Regions from separate parts of the Homo sapiens genome. Here region 2 is linked to region 1. Evidence: promoter capture Hi-C in 16 types of primary human blood cells and fetal thymus (Javierre and others, 2016). All regions are on one chromosome and are shown on one strand. Each heading gives the region's core, a stretch centred on a gene start or on the middle of the fragment in contact. The rest is flanking DNA. Distances are from core to core; before and after follow the strand shown.

Region 1 (6,187 bases), core at 3,024-5,523:
GGGGACAAAGTGGGGGTGAGACAGCTGGGGGGAGACCTGAACCTCAGTCCAGCCCTACAGGCTCCAGGCCTGCAGGGAAGGAGGGTAACGGGGAGGCAGGGCCCAGCCCCCCAGTGTGGGGAAACAGCTGAGGGAAGGCCCCCCTCAAAAGGCTCCACCTCCTCACCAGCACTCCTGCCCAGGGACAGGGAGCCCACAGCAGCAAGGGGACCCCGGGGCCATGGCCACATTCATGACTGAGAAGCAGCTGAGTGGAGGCAGGAGACACGATTATCTGGGCAGAATCAGTTGGGGCAGGGGCCTGGGGGGGCCCCATGGGCCAAACCCTGAGGTCACAGGAGGGGGCCCAAAGCGGGGCTAGTGAGTGAGGTCCTGAGTGAGTGGGTCAGCGGCTGGGCCCCTTTCTCCAGCTGCCTGTAGCCCCTCCAATACTGCTGCCAGGGGGGCCCGCCTCCAGGGAAATGGATAAGAAAGCAGCCTGCCCCTGCTGCAGACAGAGCCAGGTGGCTAAGGCCAGGAAGGAAGGCCCGGCCAGGCCTTGCCACCTGCCCCCAGAGGCCTGTGGGAAAAGGACAGGTCAGGAAGGGTGGGGACAGGGGCTCGACCGGCTCAGATCCAAGATGGTGCCACGCTTGCTTGCTGAGTCCCCCATGAGCTGGGGTACTGCACTGGGGCCAGCGACTAGTTAGACAGGAGGCAGCAGCTTCTCAAGAAATTCCTTCACAGCTGCCATCTCCTGAGGGGATTAAGAGGGGATCACGAGAGGCACCTGGCTGGAGGCAGAGAAGTGGGAGTGGGAAATGGTCCCCCCACTGACCTGAGGACAGGAGCTGTGCATGACACCCGGGTATGTCTTGAACTGGACCCTGGCAGGTGTGACAACAGACCGGAGCTTCTCAGCCGTCAGGGCCCCAAACCGTACGGGCACCATGGGGTCCAGCTCCCCATGGCACTGGAGTATGGCCAGGTCCTTGGCACTGCCATTAGCTGCCTGGAGGCCGGACAGGACTCAGGGCAAAGCTAGTGCTGCAGCAGTCCCCAAGCCACGAGGATGCAGACACAAAGGGCGGGGGGGTCAGTGGGGACATTCACCTGGGGGAAGGCCCGGTGCAGAGGCAGCCAGCAGCTCAACGCCACGATGCCAGCCAGAGGGTGGGGGCAGGTGAGGGCCGTGTAGAGGGACAGGGCCCCGCCCTGGAGGGAGGAGAGAGAGGGGTCATGAGGGCACAGCTCACTCACCGGCCACCCCTACCCCCTACCCCCCCACCCCTCTCCCCTCACCTGTGAAAAGCCTCCCAGGACGATTCGATTGGCAGGGATCCCGTTCTTCATTTCATGCTCAATCAAGGCCTTGACTGGGGGAGGGGGCATGAGTGGGTAGAGGGAAGCTGCCAAGGGGCCCAATAAGGGAGCTAGGCTGAGGAACCGCCCAGCGCTTTCCTGGGGGGCAGGGGAAGGAGGATGTGGAGGAGGGGCTGGGGTCTTACTGTTCTCTGCTGCCTTCTTGATGCCAGCCTCGTCCTCTGGGGCATCTGGACTCAGCCCCATCAGGTCAAACCTTGGGAGTAGAGGCACTGGCAGCTATAGAAAACCCCAGCCAGCCCCCTGTGGCTCCCTCAGCCCAAGTGTCCTCGTCCCCCTGCCCACCCCCACTCCCAAACTCACCAGGAGGGCATCACCATCTTCATGTTGAGGGTCACAGGGATCCTAGGCCTGGGGAAAGAGAGCCAGAGGGCCCATCATGCTCAGGAGGAATGAGGAGGCCAGAGCTCAGAGCCCGGAGTGGGGCCGCGCCGCCCCTGGTGGCCCCTCCCAGCAGGCAGGGCCTGTGTTTAAGGTGTTGCCAGGCAACCTGCCACGTGGGGCTGGAGGCTGTGGTTGGGGCAAAGCGCCAGTAATGGAGAAGCAGAGCCCAGCGCTTGGTGTGACGGGGTCCCAGGTAGTCGGTGAGTACTTGGGGAAGGGGCAAAGGGAGGTGTGGGTTCTAGGAGAGCTCAGGTCTAGGAGGCCCTAGGGCTGGGGGCTGGTGCTGGACCCCACTCCTGGGGGCTCCACAGGAGCTCAGGCTGAAAATGCCACTTCTGACTGCCCTGAGCCCAAGCCCCAGGATGCAACTGACAGGAGAGAACAGGCCTGGGATGACAGGACCACCCCCAGATGATCCCCAGCCTCAGCCCCTCCCTTGCTGGGGTGACACTCACGCATGGGGACAGATGTACTTGACGTGAGGGAGCCGGATGGTGGAGAGGGCGTCAGCCCAGCTGTGCCTGTAGGAGGGACGGGAGAAAAGGCTCCGATGTGGTAGGAAGAGAAGGCCTCTCCAGTCCGCTGCTGGGCCAGGACCCCTCCTTAAGGAGCACCCCTCCTCAGTCACTTACCCTGTGTCTCCAAGTCCATGTAAAAAAATAACCTGGAAAAGGATGGGAAATGGGGAGACAGGAAGGCTTCCCCTAGGTCCTCCAACTTCTGCCCACCCCTCCCCCACCCCCAAGGACCTGGGGGAACCCAGGTAGCAGCCAAACAGGTTACTACCCCGAGCCTGCTGGCCTCAGGATACTCCCTGCTCATCACTGCCACCTCCATTTTCCCACACCCCCTCCAGCCGGTCCTCCAGCTGCTCCCACAGTGTCTGGCCGTGGGTGAAAGGGGACCCTTACCGCGGCCGTTTCCCGCTCAGCTCCAGACACGGTGGCAGCATCGGTGAGCAGGGGCACAGACATGGTGTTACCACACATACACCACACGGCTCCACGGCGGGGGCCTGCATACATCGGGGCGGCGGTCAAGAGCAAAACCAGGCACAGGACACACTCCTGGCCCAAGAGGCCACCAGGCCATCAGCCCCACACAGCACCCAGGTTCTGTCCTGGGCACAAAGAATAGTCAAGCAAGAAGTCCCAGGGCACAGGAGAAGAAGTCTGCCTCAGTTCCAGGGCTGAAAGGCAGAGACAGCCTCCCTAGTGGCCCAGAACATGTGTCTCTGGTTCTGGCCCAACCACAGGACCTGAGCTTGCTGGAGACAGGCAGAGGCAGGGCATAGGGACTGTAGGGCAGGGGGCAGAGGGGAGGCAGCGGCACGCCTGCTTCATTCCCCCTCTAACTCCTCAGGGGTGAGTGCCTTCCCCCTCCTCTCCAATCATCCCTGGGTCCCTGCCTCCCCAACTCCGGGCCCTATGGGAAATGGAGAGAAAAGTGCCAGGGAAAGGAGCTTCCATCCCCTACTCAGTGCCGCCTCCAACCCCCATCTCAACCTCCCCCCACCCAGCCCCCATCCAGCCTTCACAGCAGTTTCTGGCCCATCCATTCCCAGACCCCCAGGGGGCTGCCCATGTCCCCAGAAAGCGTAAGAACTCCACCCACCCCCAAACTGGTGCTCCACGCCCCCCCTAAACGGAGCTACCTGCTGCTGCTGCCACTGACTGCAAACGAGCCCTGGCTTGACCACGCTCTGGGACTCCCAAACACACAAAAGAATGTCAGGCTGGCTGGCCCCTCCCCATCCTCGGCGTCCTCCAAACTCGCCGGAAGCTTCCACTACCTGCCTCAAGTGCCTGCCCACCCCTCCCAACTGGCCTCACCTTCCATCTCTGACCCCTGAGGGCAGCTCCCCACAATGGGATCGTTCACCTGTGACCCGGGGTTCCTCTTCCCATGGGGAATGCACCTCCTGCCCTGAGCTGCGATTCCCTTCCTTCTCCACCGTGGGGACTTGCACCTCCCGCCCAGGCTCCCTCCTCGGAGGGGTGCCTTCCCCCTGACCTGTCTCTCTCTATACACCTTGAGAACTTCCACCCTGACCCAGGATCTCCCGCTCCCCACAATGGGAACTTCTGTTCTGACCAAAGGTCACCCTACCCAGTGAAATTTTCTACCCTGACCCAGGACTCCCACCTGCCCACAATAAAGCTTTGTACCTTTGACTCTGGGGAAGCCCCCGCCCCACAATGGGCTCTTCTATTTCCGACCCTGAAGTCTGTCTCTTTATACTCAGACACCCCCTTGCCTAGCCCCGCTCCACTCCCGAAGTCCCCAAGACTGGACAGCGCCTTCGCACCTCACTCCCCACCCCCATCCCCCCCATCACGGTTCCCCCTCCCCGCTCTCCGGGACCCTCCCGAGGCCGACCTCCCCCTACACGCCCATCCTCCGCAGCCGCCGGCTGGGTACCTCCACTCCCTGGGACTTCCGAGGCCGCTTGGGCGATTCTCCTCTTTCTCCCGCAGACACACTCTTCCCCCTCGGCCGCCCCCGCCGGAACTTCCGTTCGAGTCCCGGGAACCCAGCCATCGCGCTGCCGGAAGTAGCCTGGCCGACAGTACGGAACCCGGAAGCGGGGACCCGGCTTCGCTGGATAGAAGCTGCCATGTTGGAGGCGGCGGGGCTACTCCCTGTCATTCAGCCGCGCAGTCGCTGGGTTCTCACCCGCTCCCACCTTGTAGATTCGAGACAGGGCACCCAAGACTCCCACTTGCTACCACCACCCATGCGCCTCCTGGAGGAGGGCCGACCGGAAGGAGAGGCATCCCTCACACTATTGTTTGCATAAACTTTACCACCTTCCCATCCTCATGGGACACACCTCTTAAGGCCTCGGGTGTCTGCCACTGGCTTTCATGCCCTATTCCAGGATCATGAATGGAATGACACACTCTGAACCGAAGAGACCTTACAGATCATCTAGTTCTCCAGCCTTGAAGATGGGGAAACTGAGGCTCAAGGAAGGCATGTAAACAGCAACCTCGGGATTCCATTTAAATTCTGCCTCTCTGGATCTGCTTCCTGATATATAAAATGGTAATAACCACCCTGCCTCCTTCACAGCTTTGTTGGTAGGCTTAAATGAGGTTGTGTGAACATGGTTTATACAGTAAAATCACAGCGTGAGGTGTTAATCACGCAAAAAAGGACCTAGGAAAAATACAAAGGCCGTATCAGGAGAGCTGGACAGGCACTGGCAGTGTTAGCGCTGCCCTTCACAAGCAATGTCATGCAGACAGTGCACAAAACGCTGCCATCAAGCTGAAGTGGAAATAGGTATCAGGGACCACAGAAAAGTCAGAAGGCAGGCAAACTGAGTTGAAGGAGCATGTCCCTGAGAATGTGTGGGGATCTGCAAATAGGAAATGAGTCACACTTGACCCTCAGCCGCTTAGGACTCACTCTCCCAGCCTAACCTATACTAGTGTTTTCTTTGAACAGAAAGAAAACAGTACAGCCAGGCGCGGTGGCTCACTCCTGTAATCCCAGCACTTTGGGAGGCTGAGGCGGGCGGATCACGAGGTCAGGAGATCGAGACCATCCTGGCTAACACGGTGAAACCCTGTCTCTACTAAAAATACAAAAAATTAGCCTGGCGCTGTGGCGGGCGCCTGTAGTCCTAGCTACTCGGGGGGAGGCTGAGGCAGGAGAATGGCGTGAACCCGGGAGGCGGAGCTTGCAGTGAGCCAAGATAGTGCCACTACACTCCAGCCTGGGCAACAAAGCGAGACTCTGTCTCAAAAAAAAAAAAAAAAAAAAAAGAAAGAAAAGAAAAAGAAAACAGTACAAAGTTGGAAGCTCAACAAAGCACTTTCCCCCAGGCCCAGAGGCACTTTGGTCCTAAGTACTCAACAGGTCAGGGAGCCTACAATACCAGGATTCGGGGCAGGAAACCTTTGAGCCTATGGGACCACCACAAGCCAAGGACCCAGGACTGAATGTCAAAAGAAAATGGAGGGTAATGTCCCCACTTATGGAAGAATGAACAGTTCCTCCTGCAACCTCGATCACCTGAGACACCATGACACTTAAAACAAATTCTTCAGAGTGAAGCTTCAAATTCAGAGGCTCAGTCCCAGGAGCTGTGATTAATGCTTTAATTAGTGGAATTAGTGAAGGGCTAGTCTGCTCTAAGATTTTTAACTTTATTTTTCCCCCTACTCCAAATTTAAACATAGCCCTTCTTTTAACTCCAAAAAATGATCCAACTGAAATAAAGAGGCTGTGGCTGAGTGAATAGGACCCTTCATGCTTTTCAAGAACAGCATTTGCATTCTGGTTTATTTCAGGCTGCATTTTAGAAATTTTGAGGGCCAACAAGGTTTGGTGGTAGCAGACCTTTCCTAGGACAGGCTGGAGAAACAGTGGCTATATCCTCCAAACAACAGCATGGGCCAATGCCTCAGAGGAATTCTCCCAAAAGGATCAG
Region 2 (5,695 bases), core at 665-3,164, 450 kb after region 1:
TAGTATATTTGCTGCATCCAGAAATATGGTTTGGCTGTGTGGCATTGTGTTGAATGCCACATTTGAATGAGTTTCAAATGGTCTCATATGACATAAAAAGTCTTTTCAAAATGAGCATTTTGTATTTGGCTTGAAGAGAGAGGGCTTTCCTTGATCCGAAGGTTTTATTTTCTGGAATCTAATTATTTTACGGTTTTTTTGTTAAAATTTACAAACTTTTTTTGAAAATTTTAACCAATTTCAGTATCAACTTGTAGAGCCTTTGCAATGAAATGGTAGGCATAAATATTTCTGTCTTGTACTTAATACACAACTTGTCTTTTTGCTTTACACATACTTAAAAACCCCACCTTAACAGATGTTCATTGAACTTTTCTGTTAAAAATTTGCCTCTTTTCTGTGACTGATAGTATTCCTAGGTACAATGCTGTAAGGGTCTTGTGATACTGAGAACTTTTGAGTTCTGATGATCTTAAGGTAGTATGTGGGGATGGGGGAGCATGGGAAAACAGAACCTTATGTTCGCAAGGAGATTTTGTGTTTTAGGATGCATCTTTATAGAAATAGGTCGTGTTAATCAGTAAACGTATTCATCTCACACAATACAGTTTCTTGATCAAAAGTGTGACATTTCGAATGTTTCCGTTTTTGCTAGTTCATCAGAATTTGAAGCTTGTCTTGAGAAACATCCACCCAGAATTTAACCACAGTCTGCGTCTATTAAGGGCTATCGAGTCTTAATAGTGTTTTGTAATTGTGAGGAGTCATGTTTATCTCATTTTCAGAGTAATCCTTTGCATTTTCTTCTTCTTCCTACTCTCTATTACCTCCTTCCCCTCTTGGTCTTCCTCCCTCTTTCGTTAACTTCAACTAAGTATCAGTGGACTTTGAAATGAAAAGAAGTTGTTTTAAGCCAGAAAACTGCACCTGGTGCATTTGCACAATGTTCGATAAGCTGTCGGGAAGTGTGGTTATCTTATGTGTCTTAGTACTTTGTAGGAGACTTGTATTTTCTTTATAGATGACTAGGTATCTTGAGTTTCATCAAGAAAAGTAGGCTTTTTCTTGAGATCCACCTTTATGTCTTTTATTTAGTATGTGTTGCAATGTCTTGTTCTGCTGCCTATTATCTTCATCACATTGTAATTTCACCACAGACAAATGCACTTTAATTCCCTGTCTTTTGAGGCAGTACACAGACTGGCCTTGTATGGTTTATTGTTTACTCTCTCTCTTCAGGGAGTCAGTCCATTTCAGCATTACCTACAGGCTGAATGTACAAAATTATTTTTGATAGGTTAATCTGAGAAATCTGGCTGAAGTTTAGCCTAATTAGGTAACGGTTTTTGAAATATTTGGAAGAAGTTGTCCATTCTTCAGTATGTTTTTACATCTTTATTTTACTGATATGAAAATTTCAACATGTACTCTTTTTTTTTAAGAAGCAACCTAAACTATAGCTCACTTAGTATTTTATTTGGACTGAAAACAATTGTTTCGCTTTTAAACTTGGTCATTTTTTCTTTTAAATCTGTGGGAATAGCGAATTAATCTTAGAACAAAAATTAATGTCAAGTTGGTTTTTTTTTGTTTTCGTTTTGTATTGTTAGGTGGAGAAAACCCAAACCACCAGCATGTTGAACTAGAGAAAACAGGGCACTTATTTCACACCGATACTGTATTTGAAGCAGAGCCAGGAAAATTTGAAAGTCCTTAAATCTTGATTAAGTGGTCTGTGGGTGTTCATTCTGTTTTTAAAACAAAACTTTTTAAAACTGTGTAAGACCCGAGAGCTGAGGGGCTTTTTAGTAAAGGATTTTGTAGTGATTTTGATCTTTTCACCAGGACAGAACAGCTGCTTTTGTTAATCAGCAATTCTACCTTCAGTAAATTAAAGCCTTTATCTTACCCGGTGTACATGAAGTTCCTTAAAGATCTAATGCTTCCATGTACATTTTCTATGGTTTTACAGGATTATTATTGCCAATTTAGGTCAGATACATCACAGGAGGAATAAATTATTATTTTGATAGAGGTTATTAGCAGCATGTATACAAATTAGTTTAGATAAATCATGCATTGTCCTACAAACTAGTTATTTCTGGCTTAATGTAATATAGCTCCTGAATTTTTTCCAGCAGCATAATAAAATGGCTAATCAGGTGAATGGTAATGCGGTACAGTTAAAAGAAGAGGAAGAACCAATGGATACTTCCAGTGTAACTCACACAGAACACTACAAGACACTGATAGAGGCAGGCCTCCCACAGAAGGTGGCAGAAAGACTTGATGAAATATTTCAGACAGGTATAATATGCATTTCTTGTTTCTGACTGGTTATGAAAGTGAGGGCAAACCACTTTGAATTTTATAGTTTTTTAAGGTTAAATAATACTTATTGTTTCTGATCTGTAGAGCTGAATGTTTGTTACTTTCCCTTCATTGAAGGCATATTGGGTTTGACTTTGATACTCTTATTTCATTATTTTGAAGCCTTCTTAGTGTTGAATATGCAGTCTTAGTTGTTTCAGAACAGCACATCGATTTGTCTTAGATTTACCACCCATAAAAATGTATGTTTCTGCATACCAAATTTTACATTTTTTTCTTAATCAAAATCAGTCATCATTTTGCTTTTGCTTTTCTACTTTTACCTTCTTAAAGTGATTGTTAAATCAGCTTAGGTCTGATTAGGTGGCATAACAAGAGGATAGCTGTATCGTCTGAAACCATAATAAATGTCAGACTCCTTGAGAGTTTGTGGCTTGTCTAGTTTCTAATAGAAATCCACATCTCTCCGTAATTTGGAAGTGTTTGGTTGTAACAGCTGCTTCTTTTTTTTTTTTTTAATCCAGAAGTGCCATGGTTAAGTGCTTAAGCAAATTTGAACATCTTAATATAGTTGGTTGTAAGTGGTTTGAAGTTTTAAAGAGGGAGAGAAATATTTACCCTTAGGGAGCGTTGTTCATAAATGAATGTGTCCTCCTCCTTTGGGGACATAGATGGAAACTTTCTTCCTCTGTGTTGTGTGTGCCTATTCAGATTCTGAGAGAGAATTGAATTGTCTCACTCACAAATGTGTCTTAAGTACAGTAGTAGCAAATAGCTGTTTTTTTTTTTTTGTCCTTAAAAAATTTTTAAATCTGGGAAGCTTAGCATAATTTTAGACATTAAAATGACTTATAAAAATGACTCCTGGGTCATGGTCGCATTTGAAAATCAGTCCTCAGGAACTTTCTGTGACATTCTGCCATAGAGAATTGGCAGTGATCTGCTTAGAGATGCTCTCTTGTAGAGTGTTTTGTTATTGATAAGAGGCTGATGGTTTGGGCGTAGACTTGGTTTGACAAAATGGATTGATGGGTGTCCTGAGTTGTGGCTTCGGGTGGTGGTATGGAATATTCAAGTGAGGCAGCTCCAGTTATTTACACATGCTCATTTCGAGCTTTTGAAACAAATCATGGCAACTTTTTTAAAAAGTAACTTTGGAAGTGGCATTACATTTATTTAAAATTTACTATATGGAATAAAGTTCTTTTTAGCTTTATCAAAATGGAGTCACTTTTCATGTTCATATGAACTTGGGGGTTTTAATCTACGAAATACTTGCATTTTACGTTGGATCAATTCTGAAATATATTCCATATGTAAATATGACACAAACTTAACAGACTTAAGAAATTATATTTTAAACTTAGTAGATGTTCTGTGTGCAGTTGAATATACTTACATATATGAAATGCAGTGTATATATTTTCTGTCAAGTTTACTTGTAAGACCATAAAGTCTTTATTGCCATTTGAAAATGATTGTCGTTCTTGACAGTCAATGTGAATGCCACAGCATCTTTTAAATCTCAGCTTGTCACTTCAGAAGAACAAAGAATGCCTTAAAGTATGACTTTCAGAATTGATTAATCAAGCTGCACTTGCATTTGTAGAAGTTTAAAATTATGCCTTTCCACATTCTGACTGCAGCAAAGTGGATGCTCAGATAAACAAATGCATTTCAGTTTATCTTTGGTGTTCAGGAGGGAAAGCCTTTTGACACTTTTTGGAGAGTGGAAAGAATTACTTAGTAAAATTTGTTTTCAGATTTTCCTCCACCTCTTAGGTGGTTAGCATCAACTGTAACCGTCTGTAATTTGAAGGTTTATCCTTGGAAAACGCAATGTATTCTTATCACTCTAATATAAACCAAAATTTGTTGTATTAATGCATAATCTGTAATACAGTATGTACATCAGATTTAACTTTCAAGACTTATACCTTTGGGGGAGTGGGAAATGGATGTTAGGATTTGGCGGGGGAGGTTTGTGGATATGGAGATTGAAATTCATGTTTTTGGTTGTTGACATTTTATCTTTATTTTCATATTTGTCCTGGACCTTTCTATGTAGTATTTGGATAGCTGCGTATATGCATATAGTTAAATGAAAATACAGTTTGTTAGTGATCATATTGAATGTAACAATTCTTGATTAAACGTCAGTAGAGCTTAGATTACCCCTTTTGTTGCAATAACGTTACCCCTTTCAATTTAATTTTTAGGATTGGTAGCTTATGTCGATCTTGATGAAAGAGCAATTGATGCTCTCAGGGAATTTAATGAAGAAGGAGCTCTGTCTGTACTACAGCAGTTCAAGGAAAGTGACTTATCACATGTTCAGGTAAGGTCGTTACTCAGAAATGTCTTTGAACAATTAGTAATCTGAAATTATTTTACTATTACTTTTTTTCCTATGGAGAAGTGGTATTTTTTGTTTGTGACTACCTCTTCTTTTAAAAAATTAGTTTAAAGGAAAAAAACTGCTTGTGGCAGAGTTTCAGAAGCCCAAGTATAAAGCAAAAGTTTTCTCCCACCCCCTTGTGCAGTAAGTTATTTTAAAAACTTAAAATTAAAGCCAAGTTTTGATGGTTGTTACTATAGGTTTTTACATGTTACTCAGCTTTTTAACATTTGGGGGTTATTTGATCCTGTTTTATTATCTTGGAGGAAAATGTAGGTGGGAGGAATAGTTTCCGACATCTGGCAAAGACAGTCTAGATACAGTCACATATCAACAAGTGGAAGACTGTGTTTTCCCAGGGTAGAAGGTAAGCTCCCTGAGGTCTATACTGCCTTACTGCTGTCTGCTCCAATCTCTGGCACATAGTAACCACTCGGCAAATACTTGTTGAATGAATCAGTAAATCTTTTGTTAAAATCCTGGTTTTCTGAAATTTAAATTTAATTATGTATCTGACCCTTCAGATATTTTTGGTGATTCTTTTTATTGAATTACTTGTCTGTTCTAGAACAAAAGTGCATTTTTATGTGGAGTTATGAAGACCTACAGGCAGAGAGAGAAACAGGGGAGCAAGGTGCAAGAGTCCACAAAGGGACCTGATGAAGCGAAGATCAAGGTAAAACTTGACTTGGGTAGTTGTAATGAAATTGCATTTAATGATGAGGTCAAATGCCTCTTTCCATGTTTCCTAGAAAGTTTCACTTTTTTTTTTTTTGAGACGGAGTCTTGCTCTGTCGCCCAGGCTGGAGTAGCGGCGCAGTCTTGGATCACTGCAAGCTCCACCTCCCAAGTTCATGCCATTCTCCTGCCTCAGCCTCCCAAGTAGCTGGGATTACAGCCATGCACCACCACACCCAGCTAATTATTTGTATTTTTAGGAAAGATAGGGTTTCACTGTGTTGGCCA

Evidence for each region. The method cuts DNA at HindIII sites, captures the fragments that hold promoters and counts their contacts. A CHiCAGO score of 5 or more calls a contact.
Region 2: a contact is called between a fragment that was not itself captured here and the fragment with the promoter of LYPLA2 in region 1, in 1 of 17 cell types (fetal thymus). The highest score is 5.5, in fetal thymus.

What each region holds. Positions count from the first base shown.
Region 1 is chr1:23,789,231-23,795,417 of GRCh38, reverse strand. It overlaps LYPLA2 (lysophospholipase 2), which reads right to left and starts at 4,273. Exons shown (of 10, transcript NM_007260.3): 1 at 4,168-4,273; 2 at 2,658-2,761; 3 at 2,379-2,410; 4 at 2,202-2,267; 5 at 1,666-1,713; 6 at 1,488-1,558; 7 at 1,282-1,355; 8 at 1,093-1,194; 9 at 818-991; 10 at 1-736. The coding sequence starts at 2,735. The coding sequence ends at 686. LOC105376860 (a long non-coding RNA gene) reads left to right here and starts at 1,886. Exons shown (of 2, transcript XR_947067.3): 1 at 1,886-1,946; 2 at 4,628-4,804. RefSeq lists a silencer at 4,036-4,095. The HindIII fragment of the contact is 1,905 bases long and covers 3,909-5,813 here.
Region 2 is chr1:23,337,464-23,343,158 of GRCh38, reverse strand. HNRNPR (heterogeneous nuclear ribonucleoprotein R) reads left to right here. Exons shown (of 11, transcript NM_005826.5): 2 at 2,142-2,307; 3 at 4,551-4,669; 4 at 5,298-5,405. The coding sequence starts at 2,151. Among named protein-coding and RNA genes, the nearest start is that of HNRNPR, 4.0 kb to the left of the region's middle. The HindIII fragment of the contact is 2,479 bases long and covers 675-3,153 here.